Linked DNA regions of Homo sapiens: region 2 is linked to region 1. The links are contacts of gene promoters, found by promoter capture Hi-C in blood cells and fetal thymus (Javierre and others, 2016). All regions are on one chromosome and are shown on one strand. The core of a region is centred on a gene start or on the middle of the fragment in contact, and the rest is flanking DNA. Distances in the headings are between cores, read along the strand shown. Region 1 holds the start of TTLL1-AS1 (TTLL1 antisense RNA 1). Region 2 has its middle 46 kb from the start of A4GALT.

What was found. Contacts are between HindIII fragments. The CHiCAGO score rates a contact against its expected background, and 5 or more counts as called.
Region 2: a fragment that was not itself captured here is called in contact with the fragment with the promoter of TTLL1-AS1 in region 1 in 1 of 17 cell types (neutrophils); the score reaches 5.6 in neutrophils.

The regions. Positions count from the first base shown.
Region 1 is chr22:43,036,539-43,043,877 of GRCh38, reverse strand. TTLL1-AS1 (TTLL1 antisense RNA 1) reads right to left here and starts at 5,293. Exons shown (of 3, transcript NR_125362.1): 1 at 3,614-5,293; 2 at 2,577-2,667. It overlaps TTLL1 (TTL family tubulin polyglutamylase complex subunit L1), which reads left to right. Exons shown (of 11, transcript NM_012263.5): 11 at 3,973-4,362. The coding sequence ends at 4,102. The HindIII fragment of the contact is 751 bases long and covers 5,197-5,947 here.
Region 2 is chr22:42,763,465-42,769,306 of GRCh38, reverse strand. No RefSeq gene overlaps it. Among named protein-coding and RNA genes, the nearest start is that of A4GALT, 46 kb to the right of the region's middle. The HindIII fragment of the contact is 7,000 bases long and covers 1-4,773 here.

The DNA.
Region 1 (7,339 bases), core at 4,044-6,543:
AGGAGCCTGGCTCTCCAAGGGATCTGGGGTGGTGACCTGGAGGACTGGAGGTGACTGCACAAGGAGGAAGGTAACTGTGGTGACCAGGCCTGGAAAGAGCTGGGGGCTTTAGAGAGGAGGCCCCCTCCAACCAGGAGTATGGGGGGTGGGAGAGAAAGCAGTCTCCACACCAGGGGCTGCAGGGGAAGCAGCGTCTCGCAGGAGCCCATTAGAGCAGGAAGGGGAAGTGGAGATTAAAGGATAAGCAGAGGGCATGGTGGGTGCGATGATGGGCAGAGAGTTCCGGAGCCCACAGAGGGTGAGTCTGGGGATGGGGTCAGACTGGGATTGGCAGCCTGGAAGGTGAAGGGTGAGATCAGGGTTGGGGATGGCAACTGCGATGGCGGCCTTCGGGGCTGGGTCCTGATGGCCCCTGTGCTGGAGGACTGAGGGGGTCTGTGAGTGTGTACAGGGTGGGGACCATTGCGGGGAGACTTGTCAGTAGCATGAGGACCTTGGGGGGTTCTCTTCAGTCCAGTTGAGGGTGGTGGAGAGGCTGGCTTGTTGGGAGCGTGTAGAGCCTCTGCCGCGTCCAGCCTGTGGACTTCTTGAGGGAGTGGGCCAGACTCGCCATTTCCCGGCCAAGAAGCAGAGGCCAGGCTGGGTATGGTGGCTCATACCTGTAATCCCAGCACTTTGGGAGGCCAAGGCAGGTGGCTCACCTGAGGTCATGAGTTCAAGACCAGCCTGGCCAACATGGTGAAATCCCGTCTCTGCTAAAAATACAAAAATTAGCCGGGCGTGGTGGTGGGCACCTGTAATCCCAGCTACTTGGGAGGCTGAGGGCAGGAGAATGGCTTGAACCCAGGAGGCGGAGGTTGCAGTGAGCCGAGATCGTGCCACCGCACTCCAGCCTGGGCGACACAGCGAAAGTCTGCCTCAAAAAAAAAAAAAAAAAAAGAAAAAGCAGCAGAGGCCAGAGCCTCACTGCTTTTAGTTGAAGAGACAACAAGGTGAACCCCCCTCCCTGATCCAGCCGTCCTCTCCTGGCTCCTGAGGAGTAATGGAAGGCTCTTGTGTGGAGCTGATGGCCTCTAAACGCTTCTAGTCAGGGCTTGCTTCCCTTAGGCATTCAGCTGATCAAAGAACCCCAGCTCCATTTTCAGGTGCAGCCACCAGCAGCAGTAGCAGTTGGTGCTGACTGGGAGGGCCACGTCATCTGAGCGGCGCCGCCCGTCCATGCCAGGTGCTCTGCGTGCCCACAGCAACTCCTCAGAGCCCAGCAGCATCTAGCAGAGGACACTGGCCGCATGAGGTCACGTGCCCCAGGCCATACCATTGGCTGTGGCCCTACAAGGCCTGGCACTTTGCATCTGCCACCTCCAGGACCCTGTTCCGAAGTTGCTGACTGTACTTTTACAGCCTTTAAAAAACCCTAACAGTGACTAGATTGTTTCTGTGAAAAGCCAGAAGAAAAGCCTGCTAGAACAGGAACTTCGAAGAGCCATCTTGGCTCTGATTCTCCTCTGCGTTGGCTCGGTAGGTGGCCAGACCACCCCTGGGAACAGCGCATCCCGGTGCCAGCTGCTTGCCAAATGCTCCTTTCTGTTTGTTTTGTTTTTTGAGCCACACAGATCAGCACAAGTGCTCCGTGAAACCGGTCACCATATGTGGTCCTTTTCTCCATTCATTCAGTAGATTCCTATCCACCAGACCTTGAGCAAGCTGCTGGGGGCAGCCACGAACCAGACGGGCGGTCACTGCAGCCCCCTGGCCAGGGAAGCAAACACGGGGGCAGTGGAGTGACGACATTTATGAATGTGGAGTCCCCACGGGGTAGGGGTATCTGATCCTGTGGAGAGGCGCCAGGGAGGCTTCCTGGAGGACCCCCCCCACCCAGGCAGATTCCAGAGTTCCAGGGGTGTCCTGTCCGGCTTCCTTGTGTCATAGGGACTATGGCTGTGTCTCTCCTTCGAGAGCCAGAGAGGAAGCAGGCCCCTGTATCATCATCCTGACAGCTCCACCCTGGTGCAGAGCCTGGATCCCTGTGGTGTCTGCTTCACAGACAGAAGTCAGAAAATGCGGCCAGGCGCAGTGGCTCACACCTGTAATCCCAGCACTTTGGGAGACCGAGGCAGGAAGATTGCTTGAGCTCAGGGGTTCGAGGCCAGTCTGGGCAACATGGTGAAACCCCATCTCTACCAAAAATACAAAAAGTTAGCCGGGCGTGGTGGCATGCGCCTGTAATGCCAGCTACTTGGGAGGCTGAGGCATGAGAATCTCTTGAACCCAGGAGGCAGAGGTTGCAGTGAGCCAAGATCGGGCCACTACACTCCAGTCTGGGTGACCGTTTAAAAAAAAAAAAAGGAATCAGAAAATGCTTTCTTCCCACCTACTCTTTCAGTCCCAGTTTGCCACCAGAAGCACAATGCAGAAAATACATTCTTTAACCTCAGAAGTTTCTAACTCATACTACATTCAACCTGCAAACTCTGGTTTTGGTAATAAGCTTATCACAGAAATCCACCCTTTTCCAGAAGTCCACATGATTAGCACTCAGCATCTGGGTACCTTTTGTGTTTGACACAAATACCTACATACAACCGAGGGTCCTAGTCAGGATGGCCAGCGCAGCACACCGACGGATGTGCTTTAACTGGGGAAAGATGCTTTCCACACTCCTCAGCGCTATGGGACAAAAAACTCCGAATTAGAAATCAGAAGTCCTAGAGGTTAATCTTACCTGTGCCACAGGCCAGCTGTGGGACCCTAGGCCCTGAGCAAACCTCTAGAACCCCAGTTTCCCCCCATAGGAAGCAAGTCCTGGTGCTGCCGCCCGAGTTGGGAGGATAATGTCAGTCACCGTGGAGGGGGGCGGCCCCATTCCCCCAGCCTGCTCCCTGCCACAGCCTGCAATAGGTGCAGGCAGCAACGACCATGCTCCAGGACCCCGTGAGAGAAGGGCCCCGCCACTGTGGGAAGGACCCAGGACTTGCCCAGATGCTGTGACCACCCCGTCTGGGGAGCTGCAGCTGGCATCCAGCTCTTCCAGACACGAAAATTCAGGCTGTTTCCTACACTGCTGCCTCCTTAGCACACGCGGCCTTAGGATGCATGAACGTTAATTGGGAAACAGGCAGTTAAAGAAAATGGGGGCCAGGCACGGTGGCCCACGCCTGTCATCCCAGCACTTTGGGAGGCCGAATGGGCAGATCACCTGAGGTCAGGAGTTCGAGACCAGCCTGGCCAACATGGGGAAACCCTGTCTCTACTAAAAATACAAAAATTTGCTGGGTGTGGTGGTGGGCACCTATGATCCCAGCTACCTGAAAGGCTGAGGCAGGAGAATCGCTTGAACCAGGGAGGTGGAGGTTGTAGTGAGCCAAGATTGCGCCACTGTATACCAGCCTTGGTGATAGAGTGAAACTCCATCTCAAAAAAAAAGAAAATGGGGAGGGGTGGCGTGGGTCACACTGGCAGAGTCTCTAGCTGAGTGTGCACCGTGGGGCCTCTCTGCCCTGGCCTCCACTGACCAGTGCTCATGTACCACTCCCATCTGGAATGGAGTTAGTCCCCCCAGCCTGCAGGTGCCTTGTGTGAAGCGTTTCCAGCCAGGCAGTCTCACCTCACTTACCCTGGGCTGGTTCTGTGTCACCTCATGCATGTTGCCTTTGGAGTCATTGCCATATTTGACCTGGTGACCTGTATAAAATGTCAGCTTCCGAGGGGAGACCACTGTCCACAATAACAACAAGGTTGTACACATAGGCAGGCTGGCCTTGGGGAGCATTTGCTGGGCTGCGAGAGCCACCTGGCAGGCAGGTGGGCTGGAGCCAGGTGGGAGGTGGGCGGGAGCCAGCAGGAGTCGCGAGGGTGGGGCCCCCTCAGGCCGCTTCTCTGGGTGATGTCATATTTGCCACACAGCAGCCTGGTGGCCCTGCCTGTTGCCTTTGAAAGAGAGCCTGCCGTGATCCTGGCTGTTTCTGTCTCCAGGTATGATGAAGAATTGGCCCAGGGTGACGGGGCTGACCGGGAGCTGAGAAGCCGTCAGGGTCAGTCTCTGGGGCCCAGAGCAGGCCGATCGAGAGACTCGGGGAGAGCGGTCCTCACCACCTGGAAGTGAGTCCCACCTGGACCTTATCAAAACTACTCACTCCACCTGGGCCCCTGCTGAAGCCCTATTTTGAAATTTCCCTTTTGTAGAGCTTTTTTCCTTTCCTAAGCCCTGTAAATAAACGAAGGCACTTCTTTGGAAGGTTATGGAGTCTGTTTGACTAGTGCTAAAGGAAACAATTCATGCGGATGTATAAAACTCGCTCTTTTTTTTTTAATTTTTAACCTAAGCAGAATTTTCATATTAAAAACTCACTTTTTTGACAGAAAGTAACAGCTTCAAGCATGTAATTTGATGTGTCACAAGGTTTAAACATTAAAAAAACTTTACACTAAATTAAAAACAAAACAAATCTTATAGACTCGTCCTGCCACGAGAGAGGAATGTATTTAACTGACGGCTCTTTTAGTTGCGTTTCTTTTTACTTGACTGCGATTTTTTTTTTTTTTCCCGAGACAGAGTTTTGCTCTGTCGCCCAGGCTGGAGTGCACTGGCACAATCTTGGCTCACTGCAACCTCTGCCTCCTGGGTAGTATTTCTCCCACCTCAGGCTCCCAAGTAGCTGGGATTACAGGCGTGTGCCACCACACCTGGCTAATTTTTGTATTTTTAGTAGAGATGGGGTTTTGACCATGTTGGGCAGGCTGGTCTCAAACTCCTGACCTCAGGTGATCTGCCCACCTCGGCCTCCCAAAATGCTGGGATTACAGAGGTGAGCCACCACGCCCAGCTTACTTGACTGTGATTTTGAAGAAAACAGGCAACTAGAAATATTCCTCGGTAATTTATCTTTACAAAGGCCTTTGTCTAGGTGCTCCCAGGAAGACCTGTTTTCTTTTCTTTTCTTCTCTTTTCTTTTTTTTTTTCTTTTCAGACAGGATCTCGCCCTGTCACCCAGGCTGGAGTGCCGTGGTGCCATTGTGGCTCAACTTCCTGGGCTCAAGTGATCCGCTCACCTCAGCCTCCCGAGTAACTGGGACCACACAGGCACACACCACCACCCCCAGCTACTTTTTAAAGTTTTTTTTGTAGAGACAGAGTTTCACCATGTTGGCCAGGCTGTTCTCGAACTCCTGGGCTCAAGCGATACTCCTGCCTAAGCTTCCCAAAGTGTTGGGATTACAGGCATGAGCCACCACGCCTGGCTTCAAAAAGACCTGTTTCTACCACTTCGGTTTTGTGGATGAGTCTGTTGTAAATGGAACTAGATGAGCACAGACAGGTCCGGCTGTGTGCCTTTTATGACGTCAGCAGCTGGGTTTGCTACAGGGAAGCGCCGTGGGCAGCCAGGAGCTGTGGGAGGAGCGATGGCTGCGGGACAGGCTGCGCGAGCGTGGTTGTTCCCATGCAGTCTCCCGGTAGCCCGGTGACTTACAGGAGTGTATGGAGAGGACCTGAGTTGGTGGGTAGATGGACAGATGCATTTGAGTAATAACTCATGAGTTACAGTGCTGTTCTTAGGAAGGGTCTTTTTTTTTTTTTTTTTTTTTGAGGTGGAGTTTCACTCTTGACACCCAGGCTGGAGTGCAATGGCACAATCTAGGCTCACTGCAACCTCCACCTCCTGGGTTCAGGCGATTCTCATGGCTCAGCCTCCCAAAGAGGTGGGCTTACAGGCGCCTGCCACCACGCCCAACTAATTTTTGTATTTTTAGTGGAGACGGGGTTTCACCATGTTGGCCAGGCTGGTCTCGAACTCCTGACCTCAGGTGATCCTCCCGCCTCCGCCTCCCAAAGTGCTGAAATTACAGGCGTGAGCCACTGCGCCCGGCCAGGAAGGGCCTTTTACTCATGGTCGTATTAACACGTATTTGCTGAAGTTTCACTCGCTGTCTTGAGTTTATCTTTAAAGCTTGCCACCTGTTTTTGTTGCAATGCTAGTAACAGGAGTTTGTTCTCCCAAATGGCACCAAGGGTATGTCCTTCAGATAAGGGTCTTAACTGACTTGCCCAGGCTCTCTCAGTGCCCATGCATGGACGTGTGTCAAGTGTACATGCCATATTGTGTGTGTGTATATGAGTACATATATTTAATGATGTTTCACTGCCAATTAGGGAAAAATAGGTCTTTTCAACACAAATGGTACTTGGCTGGACTCCAAATAAACTACAATTGGTGGGCTTTTCAGCCATTCCTTCTTCGTGATCTTATTGGTATGTGTGTTGTGTGTGTTCCCTGGTGTTTAAGTTTTGTTTTGTTTTGTTTTGTTTTTGAGACAGAGTCTCGCTCTGTCGCCCAGCAGGCTGGAGTGCAGTGGCGCAACCTCAGCTCACTGCAATCTCTGCCTCCCGGGTTGAAGTGATTCTCGTGCCTCAGCTTCCCAAGTAGCTGGGATTACAGGTGTACACCACCATGCCCGGCTAATTTTTGTATTTTTAGTAGAGATGGGGCTTCACCATGTTGGCTAGGCTGGTCTCAAACTCCCAGCCTTAGGTGATCCGCCTGCCTCAGCCTTCCAGAGTGCTGGGAATACAGGTGTGAGCCACTGCGCCCAGCCGTGGGGTTTAGTTTTAATGTGTTTGCTGTTGATGGCGGGTGTGGGATGGAGATCCCCGAGTCAGACTTGGCCTTGTGGCCTGGCTCTGCTGTTTATTAGCTGTTTCCCAAGCCTGTCCCTGGGGTCGTTGCACCTTTGTTTCCCACTGTATAAAATGGGGAGTTCTGTGGCCGGGCGCAGTGGCTCATGCCTGTAATCCCAGCACTTTGGGAGGCCGAGGAGGGTGGATCATCTGAGGTCAGGAGTTCGAGACCAGCTTGGCCAACATGGTGAAACCTCATCTCTACTAAAAATACAAAAATTAGCCTGGAGGCTGAGGCAGGAGAATCGCTTGAACCCAGGAGGCGGAGGTTGCGGAGAGCCGAGATGGCGCCATTACACTCAAGCCTGGGCAATAAGAGCGAAACTCCGTCTCAAAAAAAAAAAGGGGGGGAGTTCTGTTTGCCTCAGAAACAACCAGTACCACCGCACAGGGACCCTGCCCGCACGCCTTGCTGGCTCTGGCGAGCCCTCTTACCTCCCAGGAGGGGGTGTCCTCTGCACAGCTGGCGGCTCCACCTCGGCTCCTACACGCAGAAGTGAAAGACACCCCGTTAACTGTTCCCAGCTCTTCCACCGGTTTTTACAACCCGGTTCTCAGTTACATTGTGTTGTTTTTGCCTCCCTCTGGGAGAAGGGTGGAGTCCCTGGTTGGGAACGTTGGCCTCTGAGGCTCCGGGGCCACGCAGTCCTAATGGAAGAGTCACAC
Region 2 (5,842 bases), core at 24-2,523, 270 kb after region 1:
GCCCCCCACCCTCTGCCCCTCAAGGCCTGGGGCATCCAGGCTCTATGACCTTTCCAAGGGTTTGCTGGAAGGAGCCTGGGGTTGGGAGCCGCTTGTGGAGGCGAACAGGCTCGTGGGCCATGACAGTCCCCTCGCTTCCTCCCTCACACAGAGGAGAGCAGCATCCACCGGGTCACCTGTGGGAGAGTTGGAGCCACTGGAAACGCGGGGCTCAGGGTGCCCGGCACACAGTGGGCCTGCAGGTGGGCACGGTCGGCCCCTCACAGAGTAAGCGGCTGAGGCACTGCCTGTGCTTGCGAGGTGCTCAAGTCACACCCCAGTAAACGGGGAGGGAGCTGCCTCCACCCCACCACCCACCCACCCACCCTCATCCATTCAGGTTCTCACACACACGCCCGTCACCGTCAGCCAGCGCCCCAGCCGGTCCCATGGCCCTCCCAGTTCCGTGAACGGCGCCACCTCTCAGGCCTCCATCCTGCCACTGGCCAGGTCACTCAGACTGTGGAGGGGAGGGTCTGACAGGCCCAAGCCCGACCCTGTGCCCCTCTCTGGCTGCAGCCCCGCATGCCTGAGGGTGGCTGGAGGGGGCCCAGTGCCTGCTGGGTGGGTGTCCCTTCCGGAGGCTCTGCAAGTGAGTTGCCTTCTGAGTCCGCGCAGGTGGTTGGTGGGATCTGGTTTCTGTGGCTATAGGACTGAAGTCCCTGTTCCCTGGCTGGCTGTCAGCCAGGGCCCAGCCTTAGCAAGTAGAGGCCTGTCTCTGTCCTTGCCCGTGGGCCCCCGTCTCGGAGCCGGCAGCGGCATGTCCAGTCCTCACACTTGGAAACTCTCTGGCTTCCCATTCGGCCTGGTCTCTCTTCTGCTTCCAGCCAGAGAAAGTCCTTTTCTGCTCTTACAGCTCATGGGACTGGACCAGACCCACTATCCCAGCCATGTCTAGGATAATTTCCCTCCCTATTTTAAGGTTCGTAACCTTAATTACACCTGCAAATTTCCTTTTGTCTTGTAACAACATCTTCCCAGCTACCAGGGATCAGGACTGGGACATCTTTGGGGGCCACTTCGCCTTCCACCAGACCTGGTTGGCCCCCTCAGCTGCCCTCTGTACGGCCTTGTAACATCCTTTTCCAAAGTCCAAGCAACTCAAGAGAAAAGACCCAAAGATAGTGACATCAGCAGTTCGCCCAGGAAAACCGTCCAGCTGGTCCTCTTATGTGAGTCCCACATGGATGAATCCTGCACGTGGCACAGGGTGTCTAAGCCACTGTTTGCTGCCCCTTTCTTAAATAGAAGTAGATGGCTGGGCACAGTAGCTCATGCCTATGATCCCAGCACTTTGGGAGGCTGAGGTGGGCAGATCACTTGAGGTCAGGAGTTCAAGACCAGCCTGGCCAACATGGTGAAACCCTGTCTCCACTAAAAATGTGAAAAAATTAGCTAGGCGTGGTGGTGCACCCCTGTAGTCCCAGCTATTCAGGAGGCTGAGGCAGGAGAATTGCTTGAACCTGGGAGGTGGAGGTTGCAGTGAGCCGAGATCTCACCACTGCACTCTAGCCTGGGTGACAGCAAGACTCTGTCTCAAAATAAATAAATAAATTAATTAATTAAAAAGAAGGCCATGGAGGGAAACATGTTCCCGAGATCTCTTGGAACTGTGCCGTGGGCAAAAAAAAAATAATTAAAAAAAAAAAAAAAAAAAAAAAATATATATATATATATATATATATATATATATATTTTTTTTTTTTGAGACAGAGTCTCTCTCTGTCTCCCAGGCTGGAGTGCAATGGCACGATCTCGGCTCACCGCAACCTCTGCCTCCTGGGTTCAAGCGATTCTCCTGTCTCAGCCTCCTGAGTAGCTGGAATTACAGGCGTCTACCACCACAACCGGCTAATTTTTGTATTTTTAGTAGAGACGGGGTTTCTCCATGTTGGCCAGGCTGGTCTCGAACTCCTGACCTCAGGTGATCCGCCCGCCTCGGCCTCCCAAAGTGCTGGAATTGCAGGCATGGGCTACCGCACCCCGTCCCCATTATATATATTTAAAAAAAAAAGAAGTCTTGGAGGGTGGGCATGAGCAAAACGAGGGGCAGCCACATAGAGGAAGATGGGGTCCAGGCAGCAGGAGCCAACTGATAGGAGAGAGTGGGTGCCAGATGACAGAGGCCAGGCACCAGGCCACAGGGGATGGTCAGGAGGCTCTGGGAGGAAACTGTTCCAATGTGTCTGAACACGTGGAGAGGCGGCTTACATAGCGGAAGGAGAGTGCAGAGGTGAAGTCACAGCCCCAGGAAGAAACTGGGGCACAAGTGGCCTGGGAACCAGATGCACTCCAGGGAAAATGAGGAACCCCAGCCTGCTGCACGGCTCAGCGTGAGCTGCACCCGCATAGTAACGTAGACACTGAATGTCTGTCTCACCAAAATTATGTTGGGGGTGGGGACAGTTGGGGGGTTCTATGTGTGAGAGGGAATTAAATCCTTCACTTCCAGGGTGGAGAATCAGGAGACCCTGTGCAACACTGAGAACCTGAGAAGTGTCCAGCTAAGCACAGTATAATTATTTTGGGTAGAGATGGGGTCTTGCTGTGTTGCCCACAGTGGTCTCCAACTCCTGGGCTCAACAGATCCTCCCGCCTCAGCCCCCTAAAGTACTGGGATGATAGACATGAGCCCCCATGCCCGGCCTAAGTACATTATTTTTTATTTATTTTTATTTATTTATTTATTTTTGAGATAGAGTCTTGCTCTGTCACCCAGGCTGGAGTGCAGTGGCTCGATCTCAGCCCACTGCAAACTCTGCATCCTGGGTTCAAGCTATTCTCATGCCTCAGCCTCCCAAGTTGCTGGGATTACAGGTGTGTGCCACCATGCCCAGCTAATTTTTGTATTTTTGGTAGAGAGGGGGTTTCACCACGTTGGCCAGGCTGGTCTCGAACTCCTGACCACCACGCCTGGCATTTTTTATTTATTTTTTGAGACGGAGTCTCACTCTGTTGCCCAGGCTGGAGTGCAGTGGCGCCATCTCAGCTCACTGCAACCTCTGCCTCCCTGGCTCAAGTGATACTCCCACCTCAGCCTCCCAAGTAGCTGGGATTACAAGCATTCCCCCCTGTGTCTGGCTAATTTTTGTATTTTTAGTAGAGACGGGGTTTCACCATGTTGGCCAGGCTGGTCTCGAACTCCTGACCTCAAGTGATCCACGCACCTCGGTCTCCCAAAGTGCTGGGATGACAGGTGTGAGTCACCATGTCTGGCCTCCTAAGCACATTATTTAAGCATAAAAAGGCAGACATGAAAAGACTGACCTGAAACATAAATGCTGGGAAAATAAACACAAGGGCATGGGAGCCTTGTGGACGCACAATGGGCAGAGAGGGGCGGGGACTGTTTTTATAACAGATGCATAAACCACTTGCATCCTCAAGTCACACACATGGTTGACAGAATGGGGTGGGAGGAGACCCCACACGAGTCCCACTGGGAGGGGCTGGCCTTGTAGGGGACACAGGGAAGGATCCCTGAGCTCCACCTGGGGTGTGGGTAGGGTGAGGGAGCCCCTCCCTCCAGGGGGAAGGGAGGAAATTCCACCACAGGGATGCAGGAGCCAGAGAACAGCAAGCCCACTCCTGGTACAGTGGGAACTCAGGGGTGGAGAGGAGGGACGGCAGTGGGGCCGGTGCTGCCTCTCTGCTGGCTGGGACGCCCCATGCCCAGCAGTCGGTCCCACGGATACGCCACCTTCCGCGGCACACTGCTTCAAGACTCTGGATCATTGCTTGTCTTCCTGCGGACGACAGGAAGAAAGATGAAGGCATGAGAGAGATGGCACTTTATAAAGGGTCAGAGAAGGGCCTCTCTGATGAGGCAACATTGGAGCAGAGACTCAGGACCTGAGGCACGTGGATAACGGGGCTCCCAGCTATGAAGGGGCCAGCTCGCGGCCACACAAGGATGACCTCCTTGCCCACCCAGGCTCTGCCTTGACCAATCCAGAAGCCATGCGGCCTCTGTGCGACTCCCTGCTCTTCTCCCAGGCCGGGGGCTGGGGCATGGGCTCGGGCCAGGGGCCGCTGTTTCTTGGAGTCTCCAACCAGAACTGAGCTCTTCAGGGGACCTGGATGACGCACTGTTTGGGTGGTTGTGTTTGGGGTGTGATGCGGCCACCCTGGAAAGCCCCAGCCTGTCAGCTCTGATCCGCGTCCCTGGGGTTCACCTCCCACCTCCGTGTCAGAACCTCTTCCTGCCCTTTCCTGTGGACTGGGGGGGATCTGAGTGCCTCCCTCCATGTTTCATGAACCGAAACTGAAGCTGGAGAAGATAGGGCTTATCTGGGGTCAAAAGGAGCCCAGGTCCCCAGCTTTTGTGGGGAAACTTGTTCTGGGGGCTGAGTCAGCCTGGCCAGGTTATATGGGCGTCGGGGATGAAGTGCAGGAGAGGAGTTTGGGGTCATCCCATGAGTGATCAGAGGCCCCTGGGGGCTTGGGTGGGAGCATCAGAGAGTGGGAGGTGCCAGAGCCGTTCTCTGCCTTCAGAAGGAAGATGAGTGAGAAGGTGCAAGGGGAAGAGGAGACTGAACAGAGAAAGAAATTCAAGAGGAGAGCTCTGGAGAGAGAGGCAGGTGCCGATGGAGAAGCTGGCCCATGGGGCGGTGGGTCGGTGGGTGGAACACGGTCCTCCCCACATCTGTCCACAAAACCTTCCAAAAAGTCCCATCTCTTTGCAGAGTAGGTAATAAGAGCAGCTCCCAGGCACCCCTATGTATTTACCAAGCTTTACAGAGCACCAGCCATCACTGGTCCAGTCCATCCTCACAGCTGCTCTGTGGGACAGGTACATTATTCCCTGCTTTCATAAATGGGGAAACCGAGGTACAGGGAAGTGCCTAAGGTCAAGCACTGGAAGGTGGCGGAGCTGGGAGCAGGCAGAGTGACTCGGGGCCCACTCCCACCTCCCCACCCGCCCTGTGTCTCTGGGGTGTAGGGAGTGAGTCCTGCAGCCAGGTGTGGGGGTGGGGGACGGGTTCCACACCAGTGAGGCTGGCCGGGCCCGGGTCAGAGGGTTGATGGGGTTTTTCAGCTCATGGGCAGTACCCAACTGCATCGTGGATTGAATCAGGCCCTGGGCTCTGAACCAACGCAAACTCTTCCAGTGACTGCCAATGAGGTGGCAAGGGAGCCCACGTGACCCTGAGGGCCTAGCACGCTCTTCATTGCCCAGGGAAGCCAGCCCCAGCCTGCAGGGCCACCTCCAGATGAGACACCGCTGGAGACGATGGGTGGCATTCTCAGGGCCTCTTTGTGGAGAAAAATAGGAAACTATGATTATAAAATTAGGCATAAAAGTGAATATTAAGAGTAAATAGGGCCAGGCACGGAGGCTCACGCCTGTAATCCCAGCACTTTGGGAGGCCGAGACGGGCAGATCACCCGAGGTTGGGAGTATGAGACCAGACTGGACAACATGGCGAAACCCTCTCTCTACTAAAAATACAAAAATTAGCCGGGTGCGGTGGCAGGCGCCTGTAATCCCAGCTACTCAGGAGGCAGGAGAATCACTTGAACCCAGGAGGCAGAGGTTGCAGTGAGCCAAGATCGTACCACTGCACTCTAGCCTGGGTGACAGAGTGAGACTCCATCTCAAAAAAAAAGAAAAAAAAGAGAAAAGTTAATTGGCCACGCACAGTGGCTCACAACTGTAATCCCAGCACTTTGGGAATCTGAGGTGGGAGGATCACTTGAGCCCAGGAGCTCAAGACCAGCCTGGGCCACAGTATGAGACCCTATCTCTAGTTTTAAAAAAGTAAATAAATCACAACTGCAAAAAATGTAAAAAGCCAATAAG